7 separate regions of the Homo sapiens genome follow, and all the other regions are linked to region 6. The links are contacts of gene promoters, found by promoter capture Hi-C in blood cells and fetal thymus (Javierre and others, 2016). All regions are on one chromosome and are shown on one strand. The core of a region is centred on a gene start or on the middle of the fragment in contact, and the rest is flanking DNA. Distances in the headings are between cores, read along the strand shown.

Evidence for each region. The method cuts DNA at HindIII sites, captures the fragments that hold promoters and counts their contacts. A CHiCAGO score of 5 or more calls a contact.
Region 1: a fragment that was not itself captured here is called in contact with the fragment with the promoter of VWA5B2 in region 6 in 1 of 17 cell types (naive B cells); the score reaches 6.0 in naive B cells.
Region 2: a contact is called between a fragment that was not itself captured here and the fragment with the promoter of VWA5B2 in region 6, in 2 of 17 cell types (M2 macrophages and M1 macrophages). The highest score is 5.7, in M2 macrophages.
Region 3: a contact is called between a fragment that was not itself captured here and the fragment with the promoter of VWA5B2 in region 6, in 3 of 17 cell types (M1 macrophages, M2 macrophages and M0 macrophages). The highest score is 10.9, in M1 macrophages.
Region 4: a fragment that was not itself captured here is called in contact with the fragment with the promoter of VWA5B2 in region 6 in 1 of 17 cell types (erythroblasts); the score reaches 5.5 in erythroblasts.
Region 5: a fragment that was not itself captured here is called in contact with the fragment with the promoter of VWA5B2 in region 6 in 1 of 17 cell types (M1 macrophages); the score reaches 5.6 in M1 macrophages.
Region 7: a contact is called between a fragment that was not itself captured here and the fragment with the promoter of VWA5B2 in region 6, in 16 of 17 cell types (M2 macrophages, M1 macrophages, M0 macrophages and 13 more). The highest score is 21.6, in M2 macrophages.

What each region holds. Positions count from the first base shown.
Region 1 is chr3:184,523,826-184,527,847 of GRCh38, reverse strand. All of the region lies in intron 6 of LINC01839 (long intergenic non-protein coding RNA 1839), which reads right to left. Among named protein-coding and RNA genes, the nearest start is that of LINC01840, 31 kb to the left of the region's middle. RefSeq lists enhancers at 1,245-2,047, 2,048-2,852. The HindIII fragment of the contact is 249 bases long and covers 2,588-2,836 here.
Region 2 is chr3:183,965,128-183,968,646 of GRCh38, reverse strand. It overlaps ABCC5 (ATP binding cassette subfamily C member 5), which reads left to right. Exons shown (of 30, transcript NM_005688.4): 12 at 881-952; 13 at 3,146-3,270; 14 at 3,390-3,462. Among named protein-coding and RNA genes, the nearest start is that of ABCC5-AS1, 39 kb to the left of the region's middle. The HindIII fragment of the contact is 6,780 bases long and covers 1-3,519 here.
Region 3 is chr3:183,920,754-183,924,553 of GRCh38, reverse strand. ABCC5 (ATP binding cassette subfamily C member 5) reads left to right here. Exons shown (of 30, transcript NM_005688.4): 30 at 3,153-3,800. The coding sequence ends at 3,254. Among named protein-coding and RNA genes, the nearest start is that of MIR4448, 36 kb to the right of the region's middle. The HindIII fragment of the contact is 3,947 bases long and covers 1-3,538 here.
Region 4 is chr3:183,832,963-183,836,966 of GRCh38, reverse strand. It overlaps PARL (presenilin associated rhomboid like), which reads left to right. Exons shown (of 10, transcript NM_018622.7): 8 at 3,142-3,243; 9 at 3,378-3,475. Among named protein-coding and RNA genes, the nearest start is that of MAP6D1, 9.4 kb to the right of the region's middle. The HindIII fragment of the contact is 651 bases long and covers 2,360-3,010 here.
Region 5 is chr3:183,943,135-183,947,031 of GRCh38, reverse strand. ABCC5 (ATP binding cassette subfamily C member 5) reads left to right here. Exons shown (of 30, transcript NM_005688.4): 24 at 1,093-1,182. Among named protein-coding and RNA genes, the nearest start is that of MIR4448, 58 kb to the right of the region's middle. RefSeq lists an enhancer at 2,038-2,127. The HindIII fragment of the contact is 3,580 bases long and covers 1-3,040 here.
Region 6 is chr3:184,227,481-184,231,470 of GRCh38, reverse strand. It overlaps VWA5B2 (von Willebrand factor A domain containing 5B2), which reads right to left and starts at 1,886. Exons shown (of 20, transcript NM_001390846.1): 1 at 1,758-1,886; 2 at 804-1,091; 3 at 554-724. The coding sequence starts at 942. RefSeq lists a silencer at 1,779-2,118. The HindIII fragment of the contact is 8,832 bases long and covers 1-2,888 here.
Region 7 is chr3:183,898,423-183,901,956 of GRCh38, reverse strand. It overlaps the pseudogene CYP2AB1P. Among named protein-coding and RNA genes, the nearest start is that of MIR4448, 13 kb to the right of the region's middle. The HindIII fragment of the contact is 4,315 bases long and covers 1-3,534 here.

The sequences.
Region 1 (4,022 bases), core at 1,463-3,962, 300 kb before region 6:
CTTTCTTCCCCAAGACAGATCATAGAAACCAGAGATGTGGCCGGGCCCAGTGGTTCACGCCTGTAATCCCAGCACTTTGAGAGGCCGAGGCATGTGGATCACCTGAGTTCAGGAGTTTGAGACCAGCCTGGCCAACATGGTGAAACCCCATCTCTACTAAAGATATGAAAAATGAGCCAGGCATGGTGTTGGGTGCCTATAATCCCAGCTACTCGGGAGGCTGAGGCAGGAGAATCACTTGAACCTGGGAGGTGGAGGTTGCAATGAGCTGAGATGGCAACACTGCACTCCAGGCTGGGCAACGGAGAGAGACTCCGTCTCAAAAGATAAAACAAAAAGAAATGATCTAACCTACTGTTTTTTTCTTGTTTGTTTGTTTTGTTTTGTTGAGACATGAGTTTCGCTCTTGTTGCCCAGGCTGGAGTGCAATGGCGCAATCTCGGCTCACTGTAATCTCTGCCTCCTGAGTTCAAGTAATTATCTTGCCTCAGCCTCCTGAGTAGCTGAAATTACAGGCATGTGCCACCACACCCGGCTAATGTTGTATTTTAGTAGAGACAGGGTTTCACTATATTGGTCAGAATGGTCTTGAACTCCTGACCTCAAGTGATCCACCCTCCTCAGCCTTCCAAAGTGCTGGTGTGGGATTACAGGTGTGAGCCACCGTGCCTGGACTACTTTGTTTGATTGTAGTTCATAGGACCCCATTCCAAAGAGGGGCCCTGCCCCATCCCCAGAAGGAAAGGTCAGGAGTTTGAGACCAGCCTGACCAATATGGTGAAACCCCGTCTCTACTAAAAAATACAGAAATAAATTAGCTGGGCGTGGTGGCGCGCACCTGTAGTCCCAGCTACTAAGGAGGCTGAGGCAGGAGAATCGCTTGAACCTGGGAGGCAGAGGTTGCAGTGCGCCGAGATCGCACCACTGCACTCCAGCCTGGCGACAGAGAGACTCCGTCTCAAAAACAAAAACAAAAAACAGCTTCTCTTGTATCTTTGGGTTGTCATTCTAAAGGCTCCCATGTCACATAAACTGTGATCAAATAAATTTGTATGCATTTTTTCCCGTTAATCTGCCTTTTGTCAGTGATTTTTAGTAAACCTTCAAAGGAGGCTTTCCCTTGACTCCTACACTCTCCTTGAAATAAGTAACTTCTACGGTTTTGCGAGAATCTTTTTTCTTACAATAGGAATGTATGTTTACTGAAGAAAATTCAGGAAATAGAGATAAGCAAAAAGTAGAAAATTTAGATCGACTAGAATCCCATCTCTTAGGGAAAAACATAGTTGGTGTTTTCTTGTTTTTTGCATCTTATTTCCTGCATATGTATATGTGTTTGTGTGTTTGTGTAAGAAACACATTTTTCAAAGAACCAAAATGGGCTCATCCCACACCTACTGGTTTTCCCTTTACCGTACAATCTAAAGCTAGCTCTACATCAATAGCAGGAGCCAGGGGGCTTGTGAGAAGAGCAGAATGTCAGGCCCGAACCGGAATCTGCATTTTCGTAAGCCCCCTAGAGGATTCCTGTGCCCCACACACTCTGGGGAGCATCGCCATTTTTAATGGCCACAGAGTCTCCCAAACAGGGCTAGACCGTGATTCACTCATTGCATCTCTCGGTGGTGAGGATTTTCCCTGTAACAAGAAGCTGGTCCCTCTGGGATCTCTGGGCTCTTCAGACCCTCCCCCTCAGTCCGTGCCCAGGAGACTCCAACAGCTGGGCAGGCGGCGTCCTTGCCCGTCCTCCACGGGCGAGATGCGCTGTCCACCTCCGCCCTCCTCTTGCTCCACCTGGCCAGAGGCCTGGGCTGCGCGCTCCCCGCGCTCCTGCGCAGGCTCTACTGGGAGCCCCTCCAGGGCGCAGTCCGGACCTGACGGGCAAGCCCTGACCTGCCTTTCATCCCGCTGATGCTCGCGCCCAGCTCCCTGTGAATACCCACTGATTGCCCCCGGAGTCTCCCCGTTAGGCCCTCCCGCACCTCTTACCCCTTCCTCCCCTTCCTGGCCTCCCCAGCTCCCTCACCCGCCTTCTAGAAGCATCCTCCCCCTTCTCACCCACCTCTCTACTCCTCCCTTCCCGACTTCCTCAATTCCCACCTCCCCCCCAAATTCCAGTCCTCTCCCTGGGAAAGAGAAAGCGGCCGGGGTCCCACCCTGGCTGTGTGTGGCCCGCGGTGGGGTGGGGCAGCCTGCCAGCCGCCAGGTAGCGCGAATGGAGCGCGGGGCGCCGCGCGCTGCGGGCGGGTGAAGCCGGAATCGGGGCGGCGGCTCGGCCCCCGGCCCCCGGCCCCGGGGAGCCCAGAGCGACTAGTCGGGCAGGAAAAGAATGACGGTGACGTGACCACTCTGACCCCGAGGACTCTCTGGGCTCTGGCGGGCGCTGGGCTCGGCGGATCTGAGTGCGTAGGAAGGGCGATGGGCGCTCAGTCCCCGAGGATCACCTGCGGGACCCTTTGGGGGCACCTGCCGGAGCAGCTGGCCCTGCGACGGGTCCCACCGCGCCCTCAGCAGCAAGGCGGTTCTCCCTTTATAGAGGTTTTACGTGCGTTTGTGGGGGGTGTTCTCAAAACAATACAAATAAGCTTCCATTGTCACCGATCAAAATAGTAAGGGCTTTTTAAAAGGAAACTGTTTAGGGCTGACAGAGCTACAGAGGAAGTGGAGTGATCCGGGCACAGTCAGGGACGGGGGAGGGGGGCGGAACTGGTCTAGCTGTTTTGGCAAAATGTAATAATACAGAGTTAGAGTCTTTGAATGCTCACACTGTTTGATATTGTGGTTCTAGTAGTGGTCATGCATCAGAAGAAATAATCCCAAATATTCCCCCAAAGCTTTTATGGACACAGACATTCTTTGCACTGAAAAATGAGAAAAAAAATTATCTAAAATTGGAATCAACTAGTTGGGCACTGATAAATACATTATGGTGTATCCACAGTTGTGATATCATTCTGTCATTGATAACATTTCTGAAAAGTTTTCGATAGTATAAGGAAATTTTCTCATTCTGTAAAAGGCACAAGGTGAGTTTGTATACACAAGATAATCACAAGTATATAAACTAAGCATAGTGGAAAGACTGGAAGAAATACATTTTAAATAGGAATGGGTGCTTTTTTTTTCTTTTGAAAAAACTTTTTTATGAACTATTTCAGATACATATCAAGGTATAGAGAAGAACTTACCCATCAATAATCATGGGGAATGGAGCAACCTCACTGCTGAAGCCCCTTAGGGACCCTCTTCACCACCTTCCTCACCCTCATCCCTGAGGTGACTTCTCACTATCTTTATTACATATGAGTGGATTCCTAAACATTATATAAGTATTTCAAACTTGACATATATGACAAAGTATTATGCACACTCCTTTGACTTGCTTTTTTAAGTCAACTTGGTGCTCTGGGGATTCATCCATGTCGACTCATGTTGATGAATCTGGCTCTGGTTCATTCAGTAAATATGACTTAATATTTCTCAAAAACGTAGAGCAGAGCCTGGCACATGGCACTACATATGTTTGTTGTTTTTTAAGAAATAAAAAATCATTTTCACTGCAGTATAGTAGACTTGTTAATATCATACTAAATGTATTGATCCATTCTCCTGCTGTGAAAATTTAGAATGTTTCCATTTTGTTCTTATTACAAACAGTGCCGCGATGAACATTCTGGTCTGTGTCTTCTTGTGCACATGTGAGTTTCTATGGAGTGCACCTAGCATTGGCCACAGACATTGCAAGGGATGCCTAACTTCAGTGCTACAAATTACTGCCCAGTCGTTCTCCAAAGCGATCTTGCCAGCAGCAGATGAGTCATTGTAGTAACACTCCCAGCCCTCAACACTGCCTCTCATCACGTCAGTTCTTTTCCAGTGTAATGGGTGTGGTTACTTCTCATGGTTTAAATTTGCATTTCCCTAATTACCATGGGGTTAGAGGTCAGGCATTTGTTCCTATGTTTATTGGTATTTTTTATACTGTAAAGTCTTGATCATAACTTTTTCCTATTTTTCTATTG
Region 2 (3,519 bases), core at 965-3,464, 260 kb after region 6:
TTATCTTGCCTAAGGATACTCAGTTAATCATAGACTTGGTGTTCTACTTTTTTGTGGGATTGATGGTATAAATATTCCTCAGATTTTTGGAAATGTTTTGCATGCAACAGTGTCCATGGTTTTTATTGAAAATTAATTATGTATACACCCTGGAGAAAAATCATAATAAAATGATTTTTAAGAGTCCTGCCCTCTCTTCTGGCAAACAACAAAAACAAGTAAATAAAGAATATGGGTGGCCAGGCGTGGTGGCTCATGCCTGTAATCCCAGCACTTTGGGAGGCCGAGGTGGGTGGATCACTTGAGGCCAGGAGTTTGAGACGAGCGTGACCAACATGGCGAAACCCTGTCTCTACTAAAAATATAAAAATTAGCTGGGTGTAGTGGTGCATGCCTGTAACCCCAACAGGAGAATTGCTTGAACCCGGAAGCGGAAGCTGCAGTGAGCCAAGATCGCACCACTGTACTCCAGCCTGGTTGACAGAGCAAGACTCCATCTCAAAATAATAATAATAATAATAAAATGATTTTTAAAAGCCCTACCCTGTCTTCTAAAAAATGACAAAAACAAGTAAATGAAGAACATGGGTTAGCAGCAGAATAGGAAAGAGGCTGGGCCTAAGAATGACGGTGGGATACTGGAATGTGTGCGGCATATTTACTTTCCCCAAAGGGCTTCCATTCCTGTTATCTCAGGTGTCTCCACAGAAACCCATGAGATAGGCAGCTAATGAGTGAGAAAACAGGTAAGTGGCCTGCTGAGTCATCAGGGTGACAGTTCTGTATGGGTAGACTACAGTTAATGTGTTTTTCCTCAAGTCCTTAGCGATGAGTGGTTAGTAGTCTCTAAATGACCCTCCTCTCTGTGTGCCTTGTCCAGGGTAAACTGGTTGGAATCTGTGGCAGTGTGGGAAGTGGAAAAACCTCTCTCATTTCAGCCATTTTAGGCCAGGTAAGATTTTTGTTATTGTCCTTTTCTGCTGCTTTCTCTGGTTTGCAAGAGTCTCAGGAAAAACGAACAAATTTCCTGGAGAGTCAGGAAAGGTGGAAACAAATGAACCCTCAGCCTGCATTGTATGCCCCCAATCCCCCGCAGTTCCCCCCAGTTCTCCCCCTTCACAGCCTTCTGCCTGGAAGGAGGCCTGGTGGGCGCCTGATGGATGACTGACTGTTGTCCCAGCTGGAACCATTTGGTCTCATGCCTTCTTTCATTCAGCATGTATCTATTGAGTGCCACAGGTATGCCCGTGTATTGAAAATGTCAGAGATAAGAGATGAGCAGACACCCTACACTGCAGCGCTGCCAACAGAGTTAACCTGTAAAGAAGCAGGGCGGCCAGCACTCCCAGCCTCTCTGTCAGACAGGACTGTCAGGGTTTGATCTAGAAGCAAAGCCCCTCTGTTTTCTGCCTAATCCCTGAAAGAGTCATGCCCTTGGGGAGTTCATGGTCCAGTGGGGAGCAAGGCCTTGAGAACACAACAAGCACATCTCCAGGCAGGGAGTGAACAGCGTGCAGGGCCCAGCACACGGTGGCCAGTGCTGAGAGTGAGGGACAGGATGGGGCCGGAGTCATCCCACTGAGACACACTATCATTGCTGTGTTTTAGAATCAAACAATCCAGAAAAAAAAAAAAAACAAGGTGCCCACATGCTTTTACATTAGAATTAAATTAACTTGACTTAGATGGTTGAGATGAGCATAAACTTATGATTATCTCTACACCCTGATGGATAAGGTCCACTGAATTGAAATGAAACAGAGGGGGAGCAGGGGTGCTTTTGTAGCCCCCAGATTATGGAATGCTTTCTTGTCTTGTTTGGCATCAGCTGTCACAGTTGGTGAGTTGTGGTCCTCCTTGAGGGTGGTGGTGCCTGGGGCTGTCTGAGTCAGATCATGGCAGGCATCACCTCCACCTTCTGCTTTATGACACTCTCCAGTGGCTGGGCCCAGCCATTGGTCTTGTAAAAAGCACCAGACTTCCTAGGTGATTTATGATGACCAACCAGATTTGGAGGGCCAGTGAGGAGAGACAGAGATGGGGGGAGGGGGAGAAGGAAAGAAAAGGTCAATTCGTAAGTGCTGCTCTGCCATCTAGCAATGTGCTCCTTTTTCCAGGGTTGACTAGGCAGTGGTTAGGTTGAAAACCAAGTCAGGCTTTGCTTCTGGACAAATCCTGGCAACCCTGTCTCTGGCAGGGAAACGGGTTGGGCTGGTCAGCCCTGCTTTAACTGTAGTTTACATCTGTTGATAGCGCTGCAATGTGCGGTGTTTGTGCAGCAGCCAGAAGTGCCGGCTTTCCACAGTAGACCCCCTGGGGACTTCTGAACCCTTTGAAGTGCACATCAGAATGCTACCAGTTTGTGGTGTACGTAGGTACACCTGTGTGTGTACACGCTGTGTGAGGGTGTTTGAGAAGACCAGCTTATATGAACAAGTACTGCACAGGCTGGTTAGTGAAACTTTGCTTCAAAGCTGTAGCATCCCTAAACCAAGACAAATGTCTACTATCAGTCCCAAACAAAAGAAATCATGGAAGGGGGTAAAATGGATAAGTCAATTCATATCAAACCATTGCAACTGAACACAAACTTCAAAGCACATGGTTCATCACTGCTTGTGGGCAGGCAAGGTCCATCATTGGTAAATGGACACTGTGTATATATTATAAATACTAGGTGATGTCTAACCTGGACTTTTTTTTTCCCTTGGTCCTCATTTCATAGAAGCAACTGGTCTAGCCAGCATCCTAGGTAATTGCCTTGGATGAGTTGGCCTGCCCCCATGTTGAGGCAGGGATTAGCTGGAAACCCCTACAGCATCCTCTCCAGGAGAATTCTGCAAGAACCTCTTGCTTGTGCTTCTCCTAATTTAAACAGTTTGCACACAGCAAATGGGCTGCAGAGGGAAGTGTTTGCCTTCAAGTTATGGGTTATGCTGAGCTCCCATCACACATAAGCAAGGAGAACTTTGATTTTCTTTGCTGCTTAGCTCTCTTTGGAATTAAAGGTGGAATCTGGATTTGGGTCCAAAAAGCATCCCGGGAAATTACCAGAGCTAGATTCCATTGTGGAAGGTGGGGGTTCCGTTGGCATAGGGTGATGGTTTTGAGTTATGATGCCATTGGATGGTGTCTCTCTCCCTAGATGACGCTTCTAGAGGGCAGCATTGCAATCAGTGGAACCTTCGCTTATGTGGCCCAGCAGGCCTGGATCCTCAATGCTACTCTGAGAGACAACATCCTGTTTGGGAAGGAATATGATGAAGAAAGGCAAGGAATGTTTGGCTTCTGTCATGCTTTCCATCTTGGCCGCGTGAGATGCAAGGCAGCCCTAGTCAGCAGGCTCTGCTCCCGCCGTGTCCCTGACGCTGTCTCTTTGTGTCCTCCAGATACAACTCTGTGCTGAACAGCTGCTGCCTGAGGCCTGACCTGGCCATTCTTCCCAGCAGCGACCTGACGGAGGTACAGGCCTTCCGCCCCTGACCAGGCATTTAGCAGAGTGGCAGAGCTGGGCCAGAG
Region 3 (3,800 bases), core at 316-2,815, 310 kb after region 6:
GCCATTTATAATGGGTAACATGTCTTCTATTGTAGAAGCTCCCACAGTGACAGCTACTATAATAGCTACTTCTACTGAATGTTTACTGTGTGTCAGGCACTGTGCTTAGTGCTTTACATATAATCTCTCAACATACCATCAGTCATCACAACAACCTAGAGAAAGACATAGCCTGGATTCTGCTTTACACATGAGGAGACAAAGTCTCAGGGAAAGTCCATAGGAAGTGGAGTAGGCCGGGCACGGTGGCTCATGCCTGTAATCCCAGCAGTTTGGGAGGCCGAGGCGGGCAGATTGCCTGAGCTCAGGCGTTCAAGAGCAGCCTGGGCAACATGACGAAACGCCGTCTCTACCAAAAATACAAAAAATTAGCCAGGAGTGGTGGCACACACCTGTAATCCCAGCTACTAAGGAATTTGAGGTGGAAGGATCATTTAACCCTGGGAGGCAGCGGAGGTTGCAGTGAGCTGAGATAGCGCCACTGCACTCCAGCCTGGGTGACAGAGTGAGACCTCATGTCAAAAAAAAAAAAAAAAAAAAAAAGCAAACAGTAAAAATTGGTGGGATTTAAAAAAAAAGGAAGCGGAGGAGATGGGACAGGACTCAGGCCAGCAACCGCACTGCCAGCACACTGTCTAAATTGTGGAGAAATATTGAGAAAAGGTTAAATAGCGCAGGTTCAGCCTGGGCTTCAAAGCTGAATTGAGAGAACTTGGGGGCTAAGGATTTTTCTCCTCATCTTGAAATTATTTTCACACTAGTGTTTTTTGTGACTATCTTTGTTTGCCTTAAACTAAGTGTTGACTGAGATTCTGTCATACATAAGATACGTTGAGCTACTACTTTGTAAGTAGGTGTTAAAATAGAGCCTAGTAAGGTATAATAGATGGGACCAAGAACATCTTCTGGGAAATTCTTTTTTTCTTTTTTTGAGCCAGAGTCTCGCTCTGTCGCCCAGGCTGGAGTACAGTGGTGCAATCTTGGCTCACTGCAACCTTCGCCTCCGGGGTTCAAGCGATTCTCCTGCCTCAGTCTCCTGAGCAGCTGGGAGTACAGGCATGTGCCACCATGCCTGGCTAATTTTTGTATTTTTAGTAGACACAGGGTTTCACCATGTTGGCCAGGCTGGTCTCGAACTTCTGACCTCAGATAATCCGCCCACCTCAGCCTCCCAAAGTGCTGGGATTACAGGCACAAGCTACTGTGCCCAGCTGGAAATTTTTTCTTAAGAACACAAATTGAGACCCCTTTCTTTCGATGGGTGGCTTGATGTTTTGGAGTGGGGAGCCCATTCACTCTTTATGAGGGACTCTATCCTTCTCTTCCCTTAATTTTTTTCTTGCTAATTAAAATTTCCTTGTAATTTCAGGAAAGCCTAAAAAAAAAAAACCACACACACACCAGAAAAGCATAAAGGCAAAAACAGGATGATAAGCCATTTACCCCCAGAGACGAGCATTGTAATACACTGACTTACCCCAGCTGTGTTTTTCTTGCATCTGCACACACAGACTCCAACAGATGGGATGCTCTCTGCCGCAGACACAAAATACCAGACTAAAAGGGGTTTGGAGGATGGGATTTTGTTATCCCACATGGGTTGGTTTTTGTGCAGCTCAGCAGTGTGGGGCTCTGTATCACTCTCAGCCAGTACTCACCTTCCCCTGCTGGTACAGGATGCCTGCTCAAGCACCCAACCAAAGGAAGGACACGTGTCCAAAGGAAGGACACGCTTATGTTCTCCTTGTGGCCTGTCCACTGAGCAGGACACCCTCTCCTAAAGCACCAAGGAGACTTCCTCTTACATCTCCTTAAACAAGGTTATGTTCCATGCCTTTGCCCTGTGGCGGGGGCGGCTGAGAAAGTTGAGTACATGCATTTCAGCCTCTGCCACAGGAGGTGGGTTCTGCCAGCGTATCATTCAGGGTTCTGCTGCCACATGATTTTCCACGGCTACATAGAAGTCCATCATAGGAATGGCCACCTGACTAAGTCACTCCCTGACTTCCTTTTTCTCCCCTGACAACTAGACATTCTGAGCTCTTCCATTTCCCTCTATAAGGTTAGATCAGCTTGCATAACAAAATGGCATTTGTCTGGTGTGCCCTTGACTTGAGCTGCAACTTCTCTCCCCTGCAGTTTATTTATTTTATTTTGTTTATTTATTTATTTATTTTTTTGAGACGGAGTTTCGCTCTTGTTGCCCAGGCTGGGAGTGCAATAGCACGATCTCTGCTCACCACAACCTCCGCCTCCCGGGTTCCAGCGATTCTCCTGCCTCAGACTCCCCAGTAGCTGGGATTACAGGCATGCACCACCACACCCAGCTAATTTTTGTATTTTCACTAGAGACAGGGTTTCACCATGTTGGTCAGGCTGGTCTCGAACTCCTGACCTCAGGTGATCCGCCTGCCTCGACCTCCCAAAGTGCTGGGATTACAGGCATCAACCACCGCACCCAGCCTGTTGTTTTTTATTTATTTATTTATTTATTTATTTATTTATTTATTTATTTATTATTTTGAGGCAGAGTCTCGTTGTGTCGCCCAGCCTGGCATGCAGTGGTACAATCTCAGTTCACTGCAACCTCCACCTCCTGGGTTCAAGCGATTCTCCTGCCTCAGCCTCCCAAGTCACTGGGATTGTAGGCACCCGCCAACCATGCCCAGCTAATTTTTGTATATTTAGTAGAGACAGGGTTTCACCATGTTGGCCAGGCTGGTCTTGAACTCCTCACCTCAGGCAGTCTGCCCACCTCAGCCTCCCAAAGTGTTGAGATTACAGGCGTGAGCCACCAGCCTCCTGCAGTTTATAGACCTGGTTGGTTGGTTCCTTCACTCCCAAGGCTGAAGGAATTTGGATTTATGTGAAGGAGGTCTGGAAGTCGTTTTCTTTTTTTTTTTTTGCTATGATACTACTTTATTAGGCAAAACCACATACTACAAAAATGCTGGAAGTCATTTTCTCTGTCCTTTCCCTTACTCCCTGGATAGTTGAAAATAAAAAAATAAGGGGGGAGGTGCACGCAGGGCTAGTTGAATTGTCCCCAGATTCTACCCTCAGAGGGCACTGGCACTTACTGAGCCGTGGATCCTCTGAATCACCCTGCATGACCCAGAGCTGTGTCCTGACGGCGTCTCCTTCTTTTGCAGGTGGTGGAGTTTGACACCCCATCGGTCCTTCTGTCCAACGACAGTTCCCGATTCTATGCCATGTTTGCTGCTGCAGAGAACAAGGTCGCTGTCAAGGGCTGACTCCTCCCTGTTGACGAAGTCTCTTTTCTTTAGAGCATTGCCATTCCCTGCCTGGGGCGGGCCCCTCATCGCGTCCTCCTACCGAAACCTTGCCTTTCTCGATTTTATCTTTCGCACAGCAGTTCCGGATTGGCTTGTGTGTTTCACTTTTAGGGAGAGTCATATTTTGATTATTGTATTTATTCCATATTCATGTAAACAAAATTTAGTTTTTGTTCTTAATTGCACTCTAAAAGGTTCAGGGAACCGTTATTATAATTGTATCAGAGGCCTATAATGAAGCTTTATACGTGTAGCTATATCTATATATAATTCTGTACATAGCCTATATTTACAGTGAAAATGTAAGCTGTTTATTTTATATTAAAATAAGCACTGTGCTAATAACAGTGCATATTCCTTTCTATCATTTTTGTACAGTTTGCTGTACTAGAGATCTGGTTTTGCTATTAGACTGTAGGAAGAGTAGCATTTCATTCTTCTCTAGCTGGTGGTTTCACGGTGCCAGGTTTTCTGGGTGTCCAAAGGAAGACGTGTGGCAATAGT
Region 4 (4,004 bases), core at 1,436-3,935, 400 kb after region 6:
GAGTTCGAAACCAGCCTGGCCAACATGGTGGAACCCCATCTCTACTAAAAATACAAAAATTAGCTGGGCATGGTGGTGTGTACCTGTTAGTCCCAGCTACTTGGCAGGCTGAGGTGTGAGAATTAACTTGAACCTGGGAGGCGGAGGTTGCAGTGAGATCGTGCCACCGCACTCCAGTTTGGGCAATAGCGAGACTCTGTCTCAAAAAATATATGTTTATGAAATAAGTAAAAAAAAATCAGATGTGCATATTGATTACAGGTATATAACCAGTACATAAAAATATTGATGGAGAACAAAAGACCTTCACCTCTTCCCATGGACCCACACCTCTTAGGTCTGTTGGATCAGGGTTCATGACTCACTGTACTTAAACTGTGTATGAATGTGAGCGTTTTCTGAGAAGAGAAGGGTTCATTTTCATTAAATTCTTCTTTCTGACTCGAAAAAGTGAAAAAAGTCTCTCTGCATGGGAGTAAGCCCAAATATTTGTCAAAAAACAAGTTGTGATTTATTCAGACATATAAATATTTAAATTTATATAAAAGCCACATCGAGAAAATTCTAGAAGGATGATGGAACTGTGTATGTAATAATTACAATAAGTTATAATCACAAAAAAACCAGCGTTCCATGGAATTGTACAGATAACGACAATTTTTTTTAACAGATGGAGAATAATCATCTATGGAATAGTAGTTTAGAAGAACTTCATAGAATTTTTTTTTTTTTTTTTTTTTTTTTTTTTTGAGATGGAGTTTCGTTCTTGTTGCCCAGGCTGGAGTGCAAAGGTGCGATCTCGGCTCGCTACAACCTCTGCCTCCCGGGTTCAAGCAATTCTCCTGCCTCAACCTCCTGAGTAGCTGGGATTACAGGCATGCACGACCATGCCCAGCTAATTTTGTATTTTTAGCAGAGACTGGGTTTCTTCATGTTGGTCAGGCTGGTCTCGAACTCCAGACCTCAGGTGATCTGCCCGCCTCAGCCTCCCAAAGTCCTGGGATTACAGGTGTAAGCGACTGTGCCTGGCAGAACTTCATAGAATTTTAATGCTCTTTCATATCAACTAATCAAATTATATTTGCTTCATTTTGGGGAAACGTGTAATTTTGATTTGTTTTGGGGTTTTTTTGAGATAAAGTGTCACTCTGTCGCCCAGGCTGGAGTACAGTGGCTCAATCTTGGCTCACCACAACCTCAGCCTTCCGAGTAGCTGGGACTACAGGCGCCCACCACCACGTCTGGCTAATTTTTGTGTTTTTAGTAGAGACGGGGTTTCACTATGTTGGCTAGGCTGGTCTTGAACTCCTGACCTCAGGTGATCCACCTGCCTCGGCCCCTCAGAGTGCTGGGATTACAGGCGTGAGCCACCGTGCCCGGCTACAATTATAGTCTCTTGCACAGAAGCCAGCTTGGTCAAAATTCAGGTCTTCTTGGGTCCTCCTTTTGAGGAGTGTTCATGCTGTCCTTCCATCTTGCAGTTACCCTGACTTCTAAGAATGCAACCCGAGCTTGTTTCCCTGTTGAGGCCACTTGGCAGTTATATGAGGGACTGGGGACATCTGAGATCTCTGGGACTCATAATAATTTTCTTTAAAGTTTTAGTAATTCCCCAAATGTAAGATAATCTTGTATTCTGAAGCAACCCGTCACATAGAAGACATTAAGAAAACATTGATTAAGAGAGGTAGATGCTATTTTCCAGAAACAACCGTTTTTATATGAAAAGGTAGGAACCTTTCTTTTTAATGATAGGGGCTTCTTTCAAAAGTTATTTTGCTCTTAGGTGTCTTTTTTTTTTTTTTAAACATCTCATTCATAAATAATTAAAAACTTATGGAAAGTTGCAGGAAATAGTACAGAGGACTCCCATAAAGTCTTTTTTGTTTGTTTGTTTTGTTTTGTTTTGAGACAGAGTCTCGCTGTTTTACCCAGGCTGGAGTGCAGTGGGACAATCTCGGCTCACTGCAACCTCTGCCTCCCGGGTTCAAGCAATTCTCGGGCCTTAGCATCCTAAGTAGGTGGGATTATAAGCATCCGCCACCACGCCCAGCTAATTTTTTTTTTTTTTTTTTTTTTTGTATTTTTAGTAGAGACGGGGTTTTACCACGTTGGTCAGGCTGGTCTCAAACTCCTGACCTCAGGTGATCCACCTGCCTCGGCCTCCAAAAGTGCTGGGATTATAGGCGAGAGCCACTGCACCCAGCCCCATGTAGTCTTTTTAAAAAGCAGGCAACTCAGGTTTACTAGTTAACATGCAAAAAACTGCACATATTTAAAGTTTGGTAAGCTTTGACATGTAGACACCCGTGAAACCATCACCACACTCAAGATCATGGACATATTCATCCCAAAAGCTTCCTAGTGGTCACTCCTTCCTGCCCCTCCTCTACCCCTGGCGACAACTTACCTACTTCTACTAAAGATAAATTAGTTTGCAAATGGAACCATACAGCATATACTAGTATTTGTTGTCCTGGCCTCATTTACTCTGTATAATTACTTTGAGACTCATCCATGTTCTGTGTATCAGTTTATTCCTTTATTATTTTTGAGACAGGGTCTTACTCTGTTGCCCAGGCAGGAGTGCAGTGGTGCAATCATAGCTCACTGTAACCTTGACCTCCTGGGCTTAAGGGATCCTCATGCCTCACACTGTGCTGGAATTACAGGCGTGAGCCACCACACTGGCAATGTTTTGTTTCTTTATGAAGATGAATAAAGATTTCACATGAATTTTTTAAGATGAAACATGCTTCATGCATGCAGGTTTCTTTGGGCGTATTCATGCCCACTCCCTCTGGTTGGAGCTTTGTCAGAGAAGTGTGAGCAGTTCTTTCCTAGGCCATAGGTGAAAGATGCGCATGACACGCTTAGCACTGTCCTTGCGGTTCATGAGGCACATACATCTTACTGCCCCGTAGTAAAAATTCAGTCTTTCCAAGCGATTACTGTGTGAAGGACATTTAGTTCCTTCACCTATTATTGGGGACATAAGTAACTGAAAGCTTTGAAGCTTTGTGCTCACCTAGAAATGTGCAGCATGTAAACTTTCTAGAAAATGTGCTGCTCTTTAGACCTTGTAGCCACTAAGCAGTTGCATATTGAGTTTCCCATTCTCCCTGCTGTGTTACTTTGCAGTCTGGTGCCATCATGACAGTCCTCGCAGCTGTCTGCACTAAGATCCCAGAAGGGAGGCTTGCCATTATTTTCCTTCCGATGTTCACGTTCACAGCAGGGAATGTAAGTATTTTTATGAAGTGCAGTGCTGGGGATAGTGGTGATGTTTTTATGTTGAGTGGGTTCTTGCCCTTAAGTTAGAAATGTCAGTGCTGGAGCAATCACAGTTGTGCCGCTTGTTTCTTGCTGCCTTTCAGGCCCTGAAAGCCATTATCGCCATGGATACAGCAGGAATGATCCTGGGATGGAAATTTTTTGATCATGCGGCACATCTTGGGGGAGCTCTTTTTGGAATGTAAGTTTGAGTGTAATTGATTGCTAAACTGCTTCCTTGGGTCATGCGCTCCTCCTACCCCAGCCTCACCCCTACCCCCCATCCCCATGGCAGAGACATTGAACTATGCAACGGAAGCAGAAGCAGGTGGGCTTGGGAGGGTGAGGAAACCTCAACGTGGCTTGCTTTGGGTTTACCCAGCATACCTGGCTCATTGTAGAGACAGTCTGTGCCTTTACCCTACGCTTAACCTTAAGTTGCCCCAACTGTTGGCCTGTTATTCCCAGCCCCCTCTTAGAAGACTGCAGCCTGGCCCCCAGTCTATGCTGACATCTTCTTTTTCCCCTTCAGACTTTCCTGCCCTCCTCTCCCCTGCCTGGCGTCCCACCCTGCTACCCTGACCTCTGTCTCGCCAGTGCTATTTAGACATGCTGAGTTGGCGGAGCCATTGCTCTGTATGACTGGAGTAGAGGCCGGTGACTGCAAACCAATGTGGACCACTTACTGAGTACCCGCTGTATGCAGGCACCAAGCTAGTTCCCTTATGTTA
Region 5 (3,897 bases), core at 1-2,500, 280 kb after region 6:
TAATTGTGGGTTTCTGTGTTCACCACCATTTCATCTCTGGCCTCTTTCTAGTCTTCTAAGAAATGTTATAGACTCAATATGCTTCTTACGTGCATTTTCTTCTCAGGGCCCTGATTTTCCCAATACTGTTATATACATAAAACCTTCTAGCCCCTAGGGGTGATTGAGGGTCTTCAAATAGCTCAGAGAATAGTTGAGAACTTGAGCACTGACTAGATATTTTAAGATGTTGAGTGATTATTATTACCCTCTAAAATAATGGTATTGGAATTATGTTTTTAAGGAGTCTATATTTTAGAGAGGTACAAGCTGAAATATTTGGATGAGATAAGCTCTCTGCGATTTGCTTCCAAATAATATGGGGGGTGGGGGTAGGAATGGAAGGGAATACAGATGAAACAATATTGACTGTAAGTTGATCATTTTTATGGTAGAGTTTTGGTACCTGGGAGTTCATTATACTACTCTTTCTACTCTTGTGTGTTTGACATTTTTCTTTATTGAAAAGATAAAAATAAATAGTCAAAGGAACCCCAGAGATATGTGTCTTCACAGATACCCCGAGATGTCCAGCCACATTTTGCAATTTACTTGACAACTGGTTGGGGAAGACAATGCATTATATAGACTGTTTTTAGACTCCGCAGTCTATGGAGCACAGGGGCTCCAGACTCACTCATTTCCCAGCATTATGTATCTGATTTGACTTTCCTGGAAACATTCTTACTAGTTGCTCATAGGTTGATATCTCCATTTGTTGTGACTCCCACAAACAGGCTCAGATACAAGTAGGAAGTCCAGAAGTGAATCAGTTGCAGATATGTGTTATTGGAAATGTAAAGATGAATAGAAAGGCTTTGGGTACAAGGAAGTGGTTCCAGCAGTGCCATGATACTGCCCGCATTCACTGAGCATTGCAGTTGATGGGGTAACAGGTATGCCTTAAAAGCCAAGAGAATGACTAGGTCCCTAAGACCAGCTGCTGCATGTGCTCAGTTCTTAGTAGTCCTCTAGATGAAGGAAGTTCTCCAGCATTGGCCTGGCGTGTATTGATAATGAATTATCTCTTTGATTGTTGTTTTCCATTATCAGTTAACGGGGCTGTTCCAGTTTACGGTCAGACTGGCATCTGAGACAGAAGCTCGATTCACCTCGGTGGAGAGGATCAATCACTACATTAAGGTCAGACTGCTGTAGGCCTTTTACCGTGATCTGACTCCTCTTGGAGTCGGTTTACCCTTTGCTGCCTCAGCTGGGTGTACAAGGAGGAGGCTTGTGTTCTCTGCCTATCTAATCCCACAGAATCTCCAGCAATCTCTCAACCGTGCTTGGAATGGGAAAGAGATTACCGTAAGAGTTTCTAAGTATATTTGTAAATTATGTCGAGCTGAGAACTTCATTGGCTAATTTCCAGAATGTTCAGAACCTTGTCAGTTCAGCTTAACTGACTAATGGAGCATTTTCCTTACACTGTTTAAAACCATGTATTGTTTTAATTCTTACTATGTCCAATTGTTCTTAATCAGGGATGGCCATCAGGACCCCCTGCTGAGCTTTTGGCAGGACAAACGTGGCCTCATCTCTGGATTCTGTTGCAGTGGATTGGGGTGGGACCCAGGCTTCTATAGTTTGAAAAGCTCCATAGCGAATTCTAAACTGCTCTCCCAACTTACAAACGAGTAAATTTAATTGATACCAGAGTATCCAGCTCTTCCCACCTTTCCCCAGGAACCCCTTCCGTCTTGCCGTGGGTGGCAGGCATCTTGCTGCTGTCCTAACTGGCACTCTTAAACAATTTCCTACAGGGATGTCTTAATCCATTTCACACTGCTGTAAAGAACTACCTGAGATTGGGTAATTTATGAAGAAAGAGGTTTAAGTCACTCACAGTTCCGAAGGCTTAACAGGACGCATGGCTGGGAGGCCTCAGGAAACTTACAATCATAGCGAAAGGTGAAGGGGAAACAAGCACATCTTCCCATGGCAGAGCAGGAGAGAGAGAGAAGGGGGAAGTGCCACACACTTTCAAACAACCAGATCTCCTGAGAACTCACTGTCACGGGAACAGCAAGGGGGAAGTCCACCCCCCTGATTCAGTCATCTGCCACCAGGCCTCTCCCCTCACACATGGGGATTATTATACAATTCGAGATGAGATTTGGGTGGGAACACAGAGCCAAACCACATCAAGGGGTGTCCAATCATTTGGCTTCCCAGGGCCACATTGGAAGAAGAATTGTCTCAGGCCACACATAAAATAATACTAACGATAGCTGATGAGCTTAAAAAAAAAGATGGCAAAAAAAAGTCTCATAATATGTTAAGAAAGTTGACGAATTTGTGTTGGGCCACATTCAAAGCTGTCCTGGGCTGCATGTGGCTCAAGGGCCACAGATTGGACAAATTTGCTTATAAAGAAGCAGCATCATGAGTAGTTAGATTCTCAAATTGAACTCAATTCTTAAGAGTTATCTATTTTATTGAACTGCTGTGAGACTTTACAAGCATCTGTGTCATTGTTTATATGTGAAGAGTATATTCTGAGTTCCCAACACTTGACTTTGAAACATAGTTTTGAAAAGTTAGCTTTTTTTCTTTTTTTCCTTTTTTAATTTATTTTTTATTTTTTTATTTTTTTTGAGAGAGGGTCTTATTGTCACCCAGGCTTGAGTGCAGTGGCATGAATACGGCTCAGTCCAGCCTCGATCTCCCAGGCTCAAGTGATCCTCCCACCTCAGCCCCGCCAAGTAACTGGGACTACAGGCATGCGCCACTAGGCCCAGCTCATTTTTGTATTTTTTGTAGAGATAGGTTTCGCCATGTTGTCCCGGCTGGTCTCAAACTCCTGGGCTCAAGCGATCTGCCTCTGCCTCCACCTCCCAAAATGCTGGGATTATAGACAGGAGCCATAGTGTCCGGCCTGAAAAATTACTCTTTCAATTGGGAACTGAGTGTACGTAAACTGGATTCTCTAATAGAGATGTGCTTCACTGATTGTTTTGACAGTGAGCCTCATTAGTGGTAGAATATTTCTTAAGCTTACAAATGAATAACTTTCTTATTCTCAGAAAGGATGGCAGGTGGCTGCCCAGTGTATCTAGTAATAGCTCTTCTTTCATGTTTAGAAGTTAGCCTCTTTGCACACTGTCCTGGTGTGTAGATGACCCGTGTGTGTACATATGTGCAGTGTTTGAGTTAATGTTATGGTTGGCGAGAGCCTTGTGCTGGAGAGGTTAGGATTACGGTCAGTGGTGGTACAAAGTGGACCCTGCTGAAACCGGTCACATTTCAGAGGCCTGCCCTCCCACTGACTGTCCCAACACAGAGTCCTTCCAGCTTGGAGTTTTAGACTTTAGGCTTAACCCCCCAGAGTGCTACAGTCTTTGGCCCTTACTTCCCCCCATAAGGCTATATACTCCATGGCCAATTGCCAGAGAGTTTTAAAAGATCATGAGATATGATTGTTGATGATAAAAATTACCCAAGCAGTTATATCACAGCATTTTGAGCTGGAATAGATTCTCAAGATCATCTAATCCAGTCCCCACAATTTGCAGATAAGAAACTAAGATGCAGAAGAAGTGGTGATCTGTCCAGGTCACACAGTGGCAAAATTAGAATTAGAGTCTGTGTCTCCTGGATTGACCAAGACATGCCAGAATGCCAGGATCCAATCAGATGTTCAGTAAATATTAGTTTTCTTCCTTTGGATTTAAGCCAATGATTATCAAATGGTAGAATCCTATCTCAAAGAATTTCAGTAAAAACTGCTGTGGTGGAGGGGTGGAAGGCCTCATGTCTGCCCGTGTTGGTTTTCCTTTGGCCCCCAAGGCAGCTTTGTGGAATAGTTCCTTGAGACAAAAGGTAGTCTGAACACCACTTCCCTCCCCAGGCTGC
Region 6 (3,990 bases), core at 637-3,136:
ACAAGTAGGAATTTGCTCAATAGAAGATGGAAAGACAGAGCAGAGAGTTGGGAAAGGACCTGTCAGTCAGTGTGGCCAGCGGCAGCGGTACCTGGTGTATGGGGTCGCTGGGAGAGGGATGGAATGGGGTGAGAGCGAGGGCCTTGGCTGCTAGGCACAGGAGTCTACACTTGATTCACTGGCCCACGCGGGGCCGGATTGAGGTGTGCAGCCTAAAATAGTAAGGGGCCGGAGGGGACCACCAGGGGAGAAGGCTCCCTTTGCAGCCCCCTAGAGAGACCGGTCTCCTGGGCTGTAAGGGTTGCTGGCGCCCCCGCAAGCCCTGTGCTGCCTGCTGTGTCTGTCTCCCAGGCTGTGAACCTCCGGGCCATGTTCTCCCAGCACCTGGCGCAGGTCAGGTGCCCAGCCCACGACTGCTAAATACCAGGATGAGCCAATGAATGCACAAGGCAGTGCCCGGAGGAAGGCGGGGGACGGGCGGAGGCCGAGCGGATGCGGGAGCCTGAGCTGCGCCCGGCTTTCAGGAGCGCGGGTGCGGGCGCGCGGAACTCACCCTGCGCGCAGCGGCGGGGCGTCGGGGTCCCCAGCCCCGGGCCCAGAGCGCGGCAGCAGGCGGCCTGCGAGCGGCGCCGGCTCTGCAGCTGGAAGGAGACGCGCCGTCCGGCGGCCTCGGCCTCGAAGCCGGACACCACCTCGGCCTCGGCCAGCGGGTACACGAACACGCCTGGGGAGGGCGGCGGGAGGCGGCGTCGGACCCTGCCCGGCGCACCCCCCGCCGCGCCCGCGCCCCACCCGGGCCTCACCGTCCACCGGCTGCGGCTGCGGGTTGCGGTAGGTGAGCCGGGCCCGCACGCTGAGGCAGGGGCCGTTGGCGCAGGCCCGGACCCAGGAGTCCGTGAGCGGCAGCGGCGTCCAGCTGGAGGGGCAGTACAGGCCGGGCATGGCGCCGGGAGGCCGGCCCTGCGGGAACGGGCCGGGGAAGCTGGGCGCAGGGTGACGGGACGCCCACCCCGCGCTCCAGAGGCCAGCGCGAGAGTCTCACTCCAGCACCCGGACGGGGCCTGCCGGGGCGCGAGGCCGAGCGGGAGCTCCTGAGGGCGACAGGTGGCGGGGGAGATAAGGGGGCGGCAGGCGTGGTGGCGAGGAGGGCATCCTCACGCGTTACCTGGGCAGCCGGGCCGCGGAGGGTTAATGATTAACGCGCGCTTCGGCGCCCAGCAGTCCCGCCGCGGCTCCCCCGGGGGTGGGGGCGGTCACAGCTGTTCCACCGCCCACTCCCAACCTCGCAGCCACCCCCGTACCTGCCGGCCCCCCGGGGCCCCCCGCGGCCGCCAGCTGTCGGAAGCGGCGCGGGTGGAGATGGAAGATGCTCCGGGAAGGCGGAGGTTTAAAGGGCCCGAATCCCCCCGGAGGCCCCCGGCCCTGCGAGGGATCGCGGGGGCAGGGTGGATGGGGCGCCGAAAGGGCCTTGGTCTTTCTCTCCCTGGTGCCTCATCCGACGGGGGTGCTGGCCGGAGTGGAGGGGTTAAGGGTGGGAAGAACGAGCTGGGAAAGCGAAAAGAGGGGGTCTTTGGGAGGCAAGCCCGGGAGAGGTGTCGGGCCAGGGAGAGTCCGTGGGAGCCGCCAGGTTACCGCTCCCTACCCCGGCAGAGCTGATGTGGGAGGAGGGGGCACCTGCAGTGGCCGCGGCCCGCGCAGGGGATGCCGCGGGCTGGCTCTGGGGATCGCCCCGCTCCCTGTGGCAGTCTCAGCCTCACCGTCGCGCCCTCCGCGGAGTTCTAGGTGCCCACGGGATCCGTGTGGGTGGTGCCGCCTCTGCGCTCCGGGTGGCCCTCGGTCCCGGCACCTGCCGGCCGCCAGTTCGTGACTGTGGCTGCAGCGGCTCTGAGTCCCGGCAGGGGCGCGGGCCCTGCCGGCGGTGGTCCCGCCCCCGTTCCGAGAGGCCGCCCCTCCAGCCTGCCCTGGCCACGCCTGCTGCTGCTGCGGCGGGGCTGGCGCTCCCCCCTCCTTCGGGCGCGGTACCGCCTCCGCGCCAGCCGCGGCAGCCCGAGCCAGACTGGGCACCGCAGTGCAGGGACCGCGTCCCCGCCGCCGCACGGATCCCCGTCACTGCAGGACCGAGGCCTCAGAGACCCCACCCTTTCCATTCTTCAGGAATCAGGCGTCCTGCAAGTGCCACCGACACTGCCGCGACCCCAGCTATCCCATTACCACGACGGCATCCCATTCCCCAGCCCACCCCACCCCCTGCCCTGGGTTGCTTCCCATCGCTGCAGAGACCCTCCCTCCTGACTGCAGCGAACCCCCCAGCCCCCCATCACCGTCACCGCAGGACTCTTCCCCCAAGAAGCTGGCCCCTTTCCTTTGCAAAGTGCTCTTCATCACTGCAGAAAACCTCCCCCATCCCTGCAGGTACTTTTAGTTCATGCAGCCACTTCAGTGACCACTCACTCCAAGCAGGGATTCCTCATCACTGCAGCGACCTCCTCCCACCCCCAAGCAGCCGGCCTTGGCATCGCTGCAGTGCCAACCACTTCTGCTGGGGTGGGAGGGTGTGCACAATAGCGCCCTCAGCCTATAACCCCTTGGTCTCTTCAGCTGTGCGGGCCTTGGGAGTGAAGCCTTCTAGCCTGAAGAGCCTTCTTATGGCTGCAGACCGTCCCCTCATAGCAGTGACCCCCACCCATCACCGCAGCCCTGAAGAGAAAACATCTCTGCTTGTCAGGAGGGCCCCTTGTTATTGGCAGACTTTGCATGTGCTTGACAGTGTTATGCTGTCAAAAAGTAGGAAGGTCCGGAAAACCTCTCCCAGGTCCCCCAAGGAAGAGTCTGAGAGCCCTGGGGAAGTGAGAGGAGATGACCATGTTTGGGGATCATCCATGTAAGCTTTTTGGCAGATGCCATACTGAGATTCTGCAGAGAGAGCTTGAGGAGAGCTGGGGATGGAGGACAGCCAGTAGGAAGTGAGCTTTCGAGTCGGGCCCATGGTTCTCACTCCTCCGCATTAACTCTCTCCTTCTGATTTCAATCACTATCACCAGGGATCATCCCCCCGGGGGATCCCTGCCTCCTTGAGTATCTGAGCCCTCAACCCCAACCATCTCCTTTGCTCACCCTACTTAGCATGGTGGAGAGAGCTTGACCTTTTCCCAGGGAATTTCATGGGTGGAAATGCACAGGAATGATACAGGGAGCACAGACACAGTCACACGTACCCAACACACAGGGAGCTCCAGCTGGGTCCTAGCCCTCTTTCCATACTACCTGGGTCATGGTTCCATTCACCTCTCTCCCCCTTTCTCTACTGAGTCTGTTCTCAGCTTCATCCTGAACGAGGGTCCCTCTTTCAGGCCTAGGGAGAAACAGTGGATGGGCTGATGGTCCCTCCAGGTGATCCAGGGCCTCAGGTAGGACCAGCCCTGGCCCTGAGGGCCTCACAAAGGTCCAGGCAGTGGCCACCTTTCCACAAGCACCTTGTGCTCTGCCCCTTCTACAAATGAACCAAGAGCTACATGTAGCCCTTGGACAAACATGAGGTTGCAAATAGCAGTCATTAGGGAGGTCTCCGACACATGGAAATGGAAAAAGAGGTCCTTCTGTTTGGTCCTGAGGAGAGCTTAGATGTAAGACAGCCTCCCAGGAAGATAGCATCCCTATCAGAGACCAGACACACACACTGGCAGAAGTCAAACTTTGCTGCAAAGCTGGACCAACCCTGAGATCTTGCTAGGAAGGTCTCCTTAGCTGAGGCAAATGGAGGGAGAGACAGGTGAATGGCTCCACAAAAAGCATAGGGCACCCTGCAGGATGAGGGGCAGGGGGTGGGGAGCCAGTGCTGGCTGCCTGGCACCTTGGGTGGGGCAGTAAGAAGGGTCTCTGAGGCCCAGCTGGAAGGCCCTCTGGTGGTGAGGCAGCAGCATGACAGCCAAGGGCAGAAGGGGACAGCACAGGAACCAGATTCCAGATCTGAGGCCGGGCTGAGGGATAGCA
Region 7 (3,534 bases), core at 221-2,720, 330 kb after region 6:
GCCCCCATGCCTGGCTAATTTTCGTTGTTTTTGTTGTTGTTGTTGCTTTGTTTTTTTGCAGAGATGCAGTTTCACCATGTTGCCCAGGTTGGTCTCGAGCATAGTTGAAGATGATAGCTCTCTGGTGATCCAGCTTGAGATAGCTTTCCGAGCAGATTTTTGACGTGAGCTGGACAATAACATGAGGACACCTGCTCTTTGCCCAGGCTTGCTGTGTGCTGAGGGCTTTGTGCCCACGGTGTCATTCGGTACAATGGTGCTCTGTATTGTTGACGGAGCCTTGCAGATCCTAGATGACAGATGTTGAATTACTTACCTATCTTACTGTGTAACAAATTACCCCAAAACTTAGTGGCTTAGAACAACAGCATTTATCATTTCACAGTTTCTGAGGGTTAGGAAAATGGGTGTGGCTCAGCTGGATGCCTCTGACTCAAGGTCTCTCATGAGGTTACCATCAAGTTGTTGTTGGGGCTACAGTGTCACCTGAAGACTCCCCTAGGGGAGGCTCCACTTCAAGCTCACTTACATGGAGGTCTTCAGGACCCGGTTGCTCATGAACTGTTGGCTGGAGACCTTCAGTTCCTTGACACATGGGCCTCTGCATAGGGTAGCTCAAAACATGGCAGCTGAACCCCATCAGAGAGAGCAAGCAAGAGGGCACCCAAAATAGAAGCAATGGTCTTTTTGTAACCTAATCTTAGATGTGATATCCCATTGCTTTTGCCATATTCTTTTTTTTTGAGACAGAATCTCGCTCTGTCACCCCAGGCTGGAGTGCAGTGGTGCAATCTCAGCTCAGTGCAGCCTCTGCCTCCTGGGCTCAAGCAATTCTCCTGCCTCAGCCTCCCGAGTAGCTGTGATTACAGGCATGTGCCACCATGCCTGGCTAATTTTTGTATATTTTAGTAGAGATGGAGTTTACCATGTTGGCCAGGCTGGTCTTGAACTCCTGACCTCGAGTGATTGGCCTGCCTCAGCCTACCAAGGTGCTGGGATTACGGGTGTGAGCCACCGCACCCGGCCGCTTTTGCCATATTCTATTTGTTGGGTTTGTTGTTGTTGTTGTTGTTGGTTTGAGACAGTGTCTCCCTCTGTTGCCTGGGTTGGAGTGAAGGGACACAATAATAGCTCACTGCAGCCTCAACCTCCCAGGCTTGGGTGATCCTCCCACCTCAGCTGCCTGAGTAGCTGGAACTACAGGCACCACATTGTGCCACCACAATGGGCTAATTTTTAAATTTTTGGTAGAGATGGGGTTTCACCATGTTGCCTAGGTTGGTCTCAAATTCCTGGGCTCAAGTGATCCTCCCACCTTGGCCTTCCAGAGTGCTGGGATTCCATGCATGAGCCACTGCGTCTGGCCCATTTTCTATTTGTTAGAAGTGAGTTACTAAATCCATCCTATCCTCAAGGGGAGGGGATTACACAAAGGTGTGTATCCTGGGAGTCAAGGCTAACTGGGGTAACTATCGGGGAATCTGTCCCGATAGTCACGTAGGTTCTTTTCTGTTTTTCCTAAGCGTCGGCCAGCTTGAGAAATAAAGGGACGAGTACAAAAGAGAGAAATTTTAAAGCTGGGCGTCTGGGGGAGACATCACGTGTCGGTGGGTTCCGTGATGCCCCACAAGCCGCAAAAACCAGCAAGTTTTTATTAGGGATTTTCAAAAGGGGAGGGAATGTGCAAATAGGTGTGGGTCACAGACATCAAGTACTTTACAAGGTAATGGAATATCACAAGGCAAGTGGAGGCAGGGCAAGATCACAGGACCACAGGACTGGGGCAAAATTAAAATTGCTAATGAAGTTTCGGGCACCATGGTCATTGATAACATCTTATCAGGAGACAGGGTTTTGAGAGCAACTGGTCTGACCAAAAATTTATTAGGCGGGAATTTCCTCTTCCTAATAAGCCTGGGAGTGCTATGGGAGACTGGGGTCTATTTCACCCCTATAGCCTCGACCATAAGAGACAGGCACACCTAGGGGGGCCGTTTATAGGCCTATACCCCCAGGCGCGTATTCTCTTTCCCAGGGATCTTCCTTGCTGAGAAAAAGAATTCAGTGATATTTCTCCCATTTGCTTTTGAAAGAAGAGAAATATGGCTCTGTTCCACCCGGCTCATCGGTGGTCAGAGTTTAAGGTTATCTCTCGTATTCCCTGAACAATTGCTGTTATCCTGTTCTTTTTTCAAGGTGCCCAGATTTCATATCATTTAAACAGACATGCTCTACAATTTGTGCAGTTAATGCAATTATCACAAGGTTCTGAGGCAACATACATCCTCCTCAGCTGACAGGATTAAGAGATTAAAGTAAAGACAGGCATAGGAAATCACAAGGGTATTGACTGGGGAAGTGATAAGTGTCCATGAAATCTTTACAATTTATGTTTAGAGATTGCAGTAAAGACAGGCATAAGAAATTATAAAAGTATTAATTTGGGGAACTAATAAATGTCCGTGAAATCTTCACAATCCAGGTTCTTCTGCCATGGCTTCAGCCAGTCCCTCCGTTCGGGGTCCCTGACTTCCCGCAACAGGTAACATACCAACATGTGTAGGTGGTGAGGTTGCCATTTTAATGAAAATGAAACAGAGCGACTCATCTTGGTGCCCTGGTGCAGGGTGATGCCTCTGTACATAGAGGTGGTGGCGGGAGCCCTGAGACTTTCCTCGGAAAGGAGCTTTGGCTCTGCCCCGAGTACTGCCCTGGAGTACAGTGGTGTGATCTCAGCTCACTGCAGCCTCCACCTCCGGGGCTCAAGCAATTCTCCCACCTCATCCTCCCAAGTAGCTGGTATTACAGGCACGTGCCACCACGTCCAGCTAATTTTTATTATTTTTATTTTTTTTTTAATTTGTAGTAAAGACGGGGTTTCACCAGGTTGGCCAGGCTGGTCTTGAACTCCTGCCTCTGCCTCTCAAAGTGCTGGGATTACAGGCATAAGCCGCCATGCCCAGCCCCATTATTAACTTATTATTAATTTGCCCAGACTTGAGGTTCCTTCCTCCACAGATTTTTTTCTTCACAGAAGCCCTATCCTTCGGACGCTTTGTTGCTGTTTCTTTTCCATAGATAGAGAAACTTCAGCATAGGCAGCTTAAGAAACTGCCCAAACACAGCTAGTAAGTGACTTAGCTGAGTTTCAAATGCATGTCCCTCTGACTCTAAAGTGTTTTCTTTTCCTACCATATGCCCTGCTGTTTGTATTTATACGAAAATGCCACTCTAGGTAAGTGAACCAATGTGTTCAATGGAGATGTTTTACACTGTCATTCTGTCCTTGGCAGAAATTGGCCAGCAAGTTTACAGGTTTGTCAAGAGTCTCTGGGAAAGTGGATAGGACCAGGGCATCAGGTCATCTTGCTGCTGGCGTGGCAGAAGGACCCAGGCCCAGGTTGTCTAGAAGCTGTGCCAACTTAAGTTAAAAAGAGGGGGCCAGGGTACTGCTCTGTGTTATGCCGTTTGGGATTAGAAATTTCCTTATTAAGAGCTCATTCCTGCCAATTTGATTCTAGGACTTGTTCTGTG